Regions from separate parts of the Homo sapiens genome. Here all the other regions are linked to region 1. Evidence: promoter capture Hi-C in 16 types of primary human blood cells and fetal thymus (Javierre and others, 2016). All regions are on one chromosome and are shown on one strand. The core of a region is centred on a gene start or on the middle of the fragment in contact, and the rest is flanking DNA. Distances in the headings are between cores, read along the strand shown. Region 1 holds the start of DEFB1 (defensin beta 1). Region 2 has its middle 11 kb from the start of DEFA3. Region 3 has its middle 6.7 kb from the start of DEFA5.

Region 1 (3,067 bases), core at 133-2,632:
CTCTTTCCACAATCTCACTGCTCCTAGGTCAGGCATGGCTCAGCCTCTTCCAAGTTTTCTCCCAAACACCCTTTGTGAACTGCCTCAATGAGCTAGCTACAGGATCCCACTGCATCTTTCTGTCTCCTTCTTTCTGTCTCTCTGAATCTATTTCTCTCTATCTCTCTCTCTCTCTCTATTTCCATCTCTCTCTGTCTGTTTCTATCTCTCTGTTTCTCTGTGTCTCTCTACTGTCTCTCTGCATGTCTCTGTCTCTTCCTCTGTCTCTGTTTTTGTTTGTCCATCTTTCTGGATCTCTCTCTGTCTTTCTCTGGCAGGGTTGAAGTGGGAGTATACGGCAGGTTCATGTTTGGGTGCAGAATGGCATTCTGCCAGCGGTAGAGTGGCTGAGGGTCACTCCACTCTGGGTGTCTCATGCCATGTGGCTGCAGTATGGGGTTCTCATTGGACCACCGTGACAGTGTAGGGTGGATGTCATTCCTGGAAACTGAGCCTCAAGCTGGGTTCTCCAGCAATGCCACCACCCCCCACCAACCCTGATATCCTCCGAATAAACTCTTCCCTTCCTTGGTCAGCGAGAGCCAGCGTCTGCTGCTTGCAAATAAGCCACTGAGACATCAGGAAAGCTGCTCACAGAATTACAATGAAAATCAGTAATAAATAAAATGTTTCTTAAATCTTTAGAATCAAGGAAAACCTGAGGGATACTTGGAGAGTCGCTAACAGCACCCCAATCTGGCAGTTGTAGCTCTGCAGGGTGGGCCCAGGCTGGCCCAGACCCTCACCCTCCAAGGGCCACACTGGGGGCTCACTTTCTGAGGAGTGCCCTTTGGAAACGTCCCAGGAACACGTCTAGTGGGAAAAGAGAAAAGTTGGTCCATCGAGGAGAGTGTTCTGCATAAGGGGAGAGATGAGAAGGTAGCCTTGGCCAGAGGAAGAAACTTCATTACAACCAGCTCTCCTTCTGCAAGGGAAGAGGGTGAAGTTTGAGTTTGTCTTGCAGGAAGACAATCAAACTAAAGAGGCCAACACCAGCTTAGAGCCGAGCGGCCCCCTGCTCAGAGCTTCCCTGTGGCTCTCCTCCATGTGATCCAGAAGGAGGGACTCCAGTGTGAACTGCCTGTTCCAGAAACCCCATCAGAACTGCCTAACCTAGAAAACCAAACAGGAGGAGCTGGCACCAGGGCTCCAGGCTGAAAGCTAAATCCAGCGGCAGCCAGATGGAGACAATGTGCCATGTGACTGCTGACTGCTCAGGGCAAATGACACCAGGGGTTAGCGATTAGAAGTTCACCCTTGACTGTGGCACCTCCCTTCAGTTCCGTCGACGAGGTTGTGCAATCCACCAGTCTTATAAATACAGTGACGCTCCAGCCTCTGGAAGCCTCTGTCAGCTCAGCCTCCAAAGGAGCCAGCGTCTCCCCAGTTCCTGAAATCCTGGGTGTTGCCTGCCAGTCGCCATGAGAACTTCCTACCTTCTGCTGTTTACTCTCTGCTTACTTTTGTCTGAGATGGCCTCAGGTAAGCTCTGGTACCTGCAAGAGTTTCCCATCCCCAGGGCTGGGGACAATGGGGCTGATGTGAGTCTCGGATGGCTGCCTCCGTGTCCCAAGGGACGAGGAACAAGCAGCAGGAAAGCATCCCGTGGTTGAGTGGCCTGCAGTTGGCAGAAGGCAGCAGGCAAGCCCTGCCAAGCCTTCAGGGTCTGTGAGCCGCCAAGGAGTGAGCCTGGCAGGGTCATGGCGCTTGTCACAGGCAGCTGCCTGCATCCTTGTCCTGGACATGTAGACAGTATCCTATGTGGATGAGATTGCTGCTTCCCCTGCAAGACGACTCCTCACACTGAGAGGCCAGCTTCCTATGCAGAGAGAGGGGCCGGCCCCATCCTCAGCCCACGTCACTGGGTGCAGCCTCCTGGGGTGCCCTGGTACAGGTGAGGTGCTGCCGCCCCACCCATCAGGCCAGCTCAGCCGGTGCCTTGGACTCACCTCCTGTGCAGGCAGGCGGTCCTCTCCCTCTCCTGAGAAATGCATCCACATTCTCCAGGTTAGCAGTCTCCCCAGTCAATAGGAGGGGGCTTCCTGTGAGCCAGGTGTATGTCAGCTTCTCTGGGCCAAAGCAGCCATGACCCTGACATGATGGTGGGACGTGCAGGAGGAATCGGGAACATGTTTTATCCCAGCCCTATCCTTGTTCACACGAGTCACATGGTGCTAAGCCTTGGTTTATTCATCTGCAGAATGAGGGGCTGGGAAGGATGATCCTGAAAGCAAGCACTCCAGTTCAGAAAGTCTCTGTAAGATCCTATTGTAAGTTTCTCTAGGCCATCACTGTATCCAGCAGATAGGCTTAATTTATTCCAATTATGCCTCAGTTTTTCCATCTGAAAGCTGAGTACAAAAGCATTCTAAATGCAGAACTTTTCATGCTGCCAGTTGCTACAATGGATTTTGTTTTTTTGTTTTTTTTTTTGGTTTTTGGTTTTTGGTTTTTGTTTTTGCTTTGCTTTTTTTTTGAGACAGGGTCTCACTCTGTCACCCAGGCTAAAGTGCAGTGGTGTGATCTCGCCTCACTGCAGCCTCTGCCTCCTGAGCTCAGGCCATCCTCCCACCTCAGCCTCCCAAGAAACTGTGACTACAGGCATGCACCACCACACCTGGCTAATTTTTTTATTTTTATTTTTTCGTAGAGATAAGGTCTTACTGTGTTGACCAGGCTGGTCTCAAACTCCTGGGCACAAGCAACCCTCCTAGTTCAGACTCCCAAAGTTCTGGGATTATAGGCATGAGCCACTCCACTCAGCCTACCGTGTTTTTTTGTTTTGTTTTGTTTTGTTTTTTTGAGATGGAGTCTTGCTCTGTCACCCAGGCTGGAGTGCAATGGCACAATCTCAGCTCACTGCAACCTCCACCTCCTGGGTTCAAGCAATTCTCCTGCCTCAGCCTCCTGAGTTAGCTGGGATTACAGGTGCATGCCACCAAGCCTGGCTAATTTTTGTATTTTTTAGTACAGACGGGGTTTCACCATGCTGGTCATGCTGGTCTTTAACTCCTGACCTCATGGTCCG
Region 2 (3,282 bases), core at 730-3,229, 150 kb before region 1:
ACTAGCTATGTTCCTTTTGATACTACTTGTAAAAGGAGTTTTTAGCTTCATTTTTGAAAAGTTTATTATGAAAGAAAAAATACAATTGATTTTTGTGCACTGGTCTTCTATTTTTCAACCATGCTAAACTCCCTTATTAGTTCTAATAGTTTTTTAATAAATTGTTTTGGATTTTCTATATATAAAAGATCATGTCTTTGCAAACAGAGATTATTTAACAACTTCTTTTCTAACCTGGATGTCATTTAATTTTTCCTTCTTGCCTGACTGCCCTAGAACCTCTAGCACAATGTTGAGTAGAAGTGCTGATTTCAGATATCCTTGGCTGGTTTCTAATTTCAGTAGGAAAGCATCCTTTTTTTTTTTTTTCAACCACCGAGTATGATGTTAGTTGTAAGTTTTTCATAGATGTCCCTGATGCCAAAAAAGTTGGGGACTGCTGCCTTAACAGATTGAGAGTTCACCTCTCAACCCAGTGAGTGTTTTCATGCCTAATAGTATCTCACTTTTCTCTAACTGTATTCTTGTTTCTTCATCTTTTTTCTCTGTTCTCTGGACTATATAATCTTTTATCTATCTGTACACACATTTCCTAAATCTTGGTTCTGCCAGTTTAAGTATACTATTGAGCAGCCGTTCATAAAATTTACATTTCGATTATTGTACTTCTCAATTCCAGAATTTCATGTGTTTCTTCGTAACTTCACTTTATTATATTCTGCCCTTGAAAAGATTTTGTCATCACAGTTTCCTTTAATTATGTAATAATGGTTTCTTTTAGTTGTTTAGTCACATTTATCATTAATACTCGTTTTTTTCTATTAAGTTCTTTATATATTTAGATATTTACTTTCATTACATGTATCGTTTACAAATATTTCTCTCTCTTGCTAGGTTGCCTGTTTGCTCAGTTAATGACTTCCTTTGCTATGCAGATGTTTTACAGTTAAATGAACTCCAACTGGTTTATTTTTGCTTTAGTTGCCTCTACCTTTAATGTAATATCCAAGAAATAATCTCCCAGTTCAACGTTAGGAAGCTTTATCCCTATGGGTTCTTCTAGTAAGTTTTATGATTTCAAGACTTATATTTAGGTCTTCAATTCATTCAGAGTTGATTTTTACATTTGGTGTGAGATAAGGGTACAAATGTAGATATACGTTGAATTATCAGGTTGTGTACTTTCAACCGATATAATTTCTAATTGTCACTCCTCTCAATACGGTTGGAAATAAAAAAAAATTTTTAACCTTATTCAGACCAACTCTTTAACTAGTATCCCACTGAGCTTATTTGACTGATAGCCTGATGAGGCCATTGTCCTCTCCACACTAGCAGTGGCAGAAGACTATGCCTTCCAGAACCTCAAAAGCGTCCTTCATGAGGGTAGAAATGCCCCAGAATCCTGCAATGAATTACTCTCTATGCTGGGGTCCAGGTCTTGCCTCAGGGTCTAGACCACCAAGAATAGCAGGGCTCATCTTCAGAAAATAAGAGGCATTTATTGCCTGAACTTATGGAATAAGAGCAGTGTTTCTTTTCTTTTTTGAATATTAAGAAGTAAATGTTCCAGCAGATGAGACACAGGAAATTATAGCATGATCCTAATCATCACTATTGGCTTGGACCCAGAACAGACACTCGATAAGCAGACTCATGCTATGATAAAAGCTCGGAGAACAGAAGAGCATCAAAGGGATCTTGATGGCAAAGGCAGCCCTTCCCTTCCCCAATCACATGCTCCACCTCCTCTCACTGCAGCATCTGTCTCTGAGCCTTCTCCCAGCAGAGCTATAAATCCAAGCTGGCTTATCACTCCCCACACATCCACTCCTGCTCTCCATCCTCCAGGTGACCCCAGCCATGAGGACCCTCACCCTCCTCGCTGCCATTCTCCTGGTGCCACTCCAGGCCCTGGCTTGAGCCACTCCAGGCAAGAGCTGACTAGGCTGCAGCCCAGGAGCAGCTTGGGGCAGACCACCAGGACTTTGCCATCTCCTTCACAGGGGACATAAGCTCAGGTTTTAGAGATTCAGGTGAGAGCCACCAGCACTGCAGAGCCAGGAGTCTAGAGAGGAAAACCAGGCACCGCTAGAATCAGACCCAATAGCTGGTTCTTTCTCTTAGGTGATCACCTCTCCAGGCCTCAATTTCCTCAAGTGTAGACTGAAAAGACAGAATCAGATGATATTCAATGGACATTGCTCCTCCAAAGGTATTTGATTCTGTGAAAAGTCAGTGAAATTTAGTAATCTTATGCTATGTGGAAACACGCTGGGGAGTCTCTCTGGCATCGAGGATGAGAACCCACTTGGAAAGAAACATATTTCACTTTGTTTGTTAGAGGAGCTTCACAAATGGGAAGGGACCTAAGGGTGTACTCAAATGTGTGTGTGAAGAAGCAGCATCACAAAAAGTGAGCAAATGAGAATAAGTCTCTAATCCTGCCTGTGAGCAGCACTGCTGTGTACGTTGATTCCTATTGATTGAGCTGATCTTGCTGCTGCTGTGGTGTGGCCACCATGATGAATGCAATCAGCCCAGTAAGTAACTGCACGGGGATTCTCCTTACCAACCGCGTCTGACCCCAGTCCCAATGCCTGATGCTTTCTCTGTGTCTTCAGGCTCAGCGACGGGCTTGGTCTGCTATGGCAGAATATCAGGCTGTCATTTTTCCAAACACCGCTATGGGACCTGCACCAATAGTGGGATCATGGAGCACAGAGGAAAATGTGTTCATCATTTGCTTTGAGATCTAGAGGAGAACTTTTATTACTCCTTTACCTTGTCTTCAATTTCTTCCCTTATTCCTAATAAAGTCTTTGTAGCAAGTTTGTGTTTGTACCTGTTTGGTGTTTAATGCACCTCTTAGTCAAGACTCTTTGGGATGCAAGCACCAGAATCCTAAATTAAGCTTTTTAAGCAAAATACAACTCCAAATTCTAAGAATATCAAGGACAAACATTGGCTTCAGACACAAACTGATTTACAAGCACAAATTATGCTGCCAATTTCTCCTTCTACTTCTCTGTCTTTTCACTCTGCTTCACTTTGATTGGATTCACTCAAACGTAACTCCCATGTGTTAGGAAAAACAGTCATTATCAGCTTTCAGTTTACACAATCATAACATCGCTACTTCTTAGGGAAAAAACCACCATGTTCTTTCCTGAAGTGTTGGAGTTTCATTGAACAGACCCAGGTCACACATCTGCCTTTGAAGACCTGGGGTTGTCACAGCTCTATTGAAAAAAATTTAATTGAGATTGGAATGAACAGTTA
Region 3 (3,206 bases), core at 208-2,707, 170 kb before region 1:
ACACATAAAATTAACCATCACATTAGACCTTCAGTTTTACTGAGCAATCTTCTAAGTCTTCTCTGTATTTCAATCTTGTTCCAGTTCTTTAGAAGGACTTTAATAATATCCTAGTTCTATCATATTCTATATCACGTTTTTCACAGATTAAATTCTTGAAACTGTTGTTGGGTTTTTTTTTCTTTTCTTTTCTTTTCTTTTTTTTTTTTTTTTGACAGAGTCTCACTCTGCTACCCAGGGTGGAGTACAGTGGTGTGATCTCAGGCAGCTGCCACCTCAGCCTCTCAGGTTCAAGCGATTCTCATGCCTTGGCCTCCCAAGTAGCTGGGAATACAGGCATATGCAACCACATCCAGATAATTTTTTCTACTTTTAGTAGTAACAGGGTTTCACCATGTTGCCCAGGCTGGTATCGAACTCCCAATCTCAGGTGATCCACCCGCCTTGGCCTCCCAAAGGGCTGGGATTACAGGTTTGAGCCACTACACCCAGCCTTGCTTTTGAAACTTTTGATGCATCTTACACCTATGTGTAAATGTAATCTGATAGTGGTTTTGCTTTGATTTACTTTGATAAACTTCTATAATTATGTAATTGGTATTACTATAATTTGAGTATGTCCTCCAAAAGTTCATGTTGAGACTTACTCCTCAATATAACACTATTAAAAGGTGGGGTCTTTAAGAGATGATGGGGTTCTGAGGGCTCTATGCCCCCGAATGGATTAACCCATTCATGAATTAACGTGTTAGTAGATTGTCACAAGAGTGAGTCTGCTGTGAGTCTGTTGTAAAAGCCAGTTCCTCTCAGTGTGTCCCGCCTCACCATGTGATACCCTGCACAACTGAGGACTGCAGAGATTCCTTATCAGCAAGAAGGCCCTCACCAGATGCAGCCTCTAAATCTCAGATTTCCCAGCCTTCAGAGTTGTAAGAAAAAAATGTATTTTCTTTGTAAGTTACCCAGTCTTAGGTATTCAGTTATGGAAAGAAAAAAATAATATAAGACAGCTACCATCTTAGGATCAAGGAAATATGGCAATATTGGTTAATATCCATTCATTGTCCCCATTGTGTTAGGCATCACACCAATTGCTTTCCCTACCACACATGAGGTAGGAGACAATTATCTAGATTTGAGAGATTAAGAAATGGAGGCCTGGTACATGGCAGCCCATCCTTTAGTCTTCGGTATACCTGATGTTGCATAAGAAACAACAGCAAACAGAAAAAGATGACCAGCCCCAATGGACAAAGGAGCCAGTGACCAACCCTAAGAAGATGGCAATGTTCAATAATTCAAAACAGCAGTTTTTAGGAGATTCAGCAAGCTTTGCAATGACACAGAAAAGTAATTCAGAAATGTATCAGAAAAATTTAGCAAGTATATCAAAATCGTTTTCTAAAAAGCAAATAGAAACCCTGGAACTGAGAAATAAACTGCCTAGCAGAAAGCTGTCAGACTCTCAATAACAGAAAGAATGAAGAATACCTATTAAATATAGAAAATACCTCAAAAGAACAAATCTAAAAGTCATTGACCTTCAAAAGGGAGCTGAGAGAGGGCAAGGGCTACAAAGCTTAAATAAATAATAATAGAAAACTTTCCAAATATAGAGAAAGATATAAATATCTAGGTATAGGAAGGTTAAACATTATCAAACAGATTCAACACAAAAAAGACTATCATAAGGCATACGGTCATTAAACTCTCAAAGGAAAAAGAGAGGATTCTAAAAGCAGCAAAAAGAAAGAAGCAAATTAAACATAAAGAGGCTCCAAATCATCTGGCTACAAACTTCTCAGTGGAAATCCTACAGACCAACAAGGAGAGGGATGATATGCTCAAAGTGCTGGGGCACAGGCTGAGAGATAATCTTCCCACCAAGAATACTGCACCCAGCAAAGCTATCTTTCACATATTGAGTAGAAATAAAGGTTGTGACTGACAAACAAAAACTGAGGAAATTCATTACCAGACCTGTCTGTCTTAATACAAAATTATAAAAGGAAAGTCTTTAGTCTTTAAGAAAAGGATGCCAACATGCAAAAAGAAAACATCTGAAGGTATAAAACCAATTGGTAAAAGTAAGTACACAGACAATTTTAGAATACTCTAATATTATAATTGTGGTTTGTAGATCTCTCATATCTCTAGTATGAATACTTAAAGGCAAATCTATGAAAAATAATAAATAAAACAATTTGTTAAGAGATAGGCAATATAAAAAGATGTACACTGAGATCAAAAAAGTCTAAATGTTGGGGGGGAGGGAGTTAAAGTATAGAGTTTTTTAGGTTTTTCTGTCATTGTTAGCTTCTTCTACTTTCTTTGTGATCAAAGTTAAGTTGTCATTTGTTGAAAATAACTTCTTATGAACATTTCATAATCTTCCTAATAACCCTAAAGCAAAAACCTGTAATGCATACACATTTTTTTTTTTTTTTTTTTGAGACAGAGTCTCACTCTGTCACCCAGGCTGGAGTGCAGTAGCACGATCTCAGCTCACTGCAAGCTCCGCCTCCCAGGTTCAGGCCATTCTCCTGCTTCAGCCTCCCAAGTAGTTGGGACTACAGGTGCCCGCCACCACCCCTGGCTAATTTTTTGTATTTTTAGTAGAGATGGGGTATCGCCGTGTTAGCCAGGATGGTCTCGATCTCCTGACCTCGTGATCCGCCTGCCTCGGCCTCCTAAAGTGCTGGGATTACAGACGTGAGCCACCGTGCCCAGCCATGCATACACTTTTTTAAAAGCAAAGAATTAAAGCGCTATCAGAGAAAATCATTTAACCACTAAGGAGGAAAGTAATAAAAGAAGAAAGAAAAGGAAGAGATGAGTTACAAAAGAAACAGAAAACAAGTAACAAAATGGTAATAGTAAGTTCTTACCTATCAATAATAACATTAAGTATAAACTAAATTCTTCAGTTTATAGACATACATTGGCTGAATGGATTGAAAATCAAGATCCAACTATATGCTCCCTACAAGAAAATTACTTTGTCTATAAAGACCCATATAGATTGAAAGTGATGGGATGAAAAAAGATATTCCATGCAAATGGAAACCAAAAGAGAGCAACAGTAGCCATATTTCTATCAGACAAAACAGAATTTGAGTCAAAAATTACAAAAAGAGGCAAACAGGGTCATTATGTAATGATACAGTGGTCAATTTAGCAAAAGGATATAAAAATTCAAAGAGCAT

What was found. The method cuts DNA at HindIII sites, captures the fragments that hold promoters and counts their contacts. A CHiCAGO score of 5 or more calls a contact.
Region 2: a contact is called between a fragment that was not itself captured here and the fragment with the promoter of DEFB1 in region 1, in 2 of 17 cell types (naive B cells and fetal thymus). The highest score is 5.7, in naive B cells.
Region 3: a contact is called between a fragment that was not itself captured here and the fragment with the promoter of DEFB1 in region 1, in 2 of 17 cell types (total B cells and fetal thymus). The highest score is 5.3, in total B cells.

Annotation. Positions count from the first base shown.
Region 1 is chr8:6,876,251-6,879,317 of GRCh38, reverse strand. DEFB1 (defensin beta 1) reads left to right here and starts at 1,382. Exons shown (of 2, transcript NM_005218.4): 1 at 1,382-1,521. The coding sequence starts at 1,461. The HindIII fragment of the contact is 13,732 bases long and covers 1-3,067 here.
Region 2 is chr8:7,028,071-7,031,352 of GRCh38, reverse strand. It overlaps the pseudogene DEFA11P. Among named protein-coding and RNA genes, the nearest start is that of DEFA3, 11 kb to the right of the region's middle. The HindIII fragment of the contact is 1,875 bases long and covers 1,042-2,916 here.
Region 3 is chr8:7,048,466-7,051,671 of GRCh38, reverse strand. No RefSeq gene overlaps it. Among named protein-coding and RNA genes, the nearest start is that of DEFA5, 6.7 kb to the left of the region's middle. The HindIII fragment of the contact is 249 bases long and covers 1,333-1,581 here.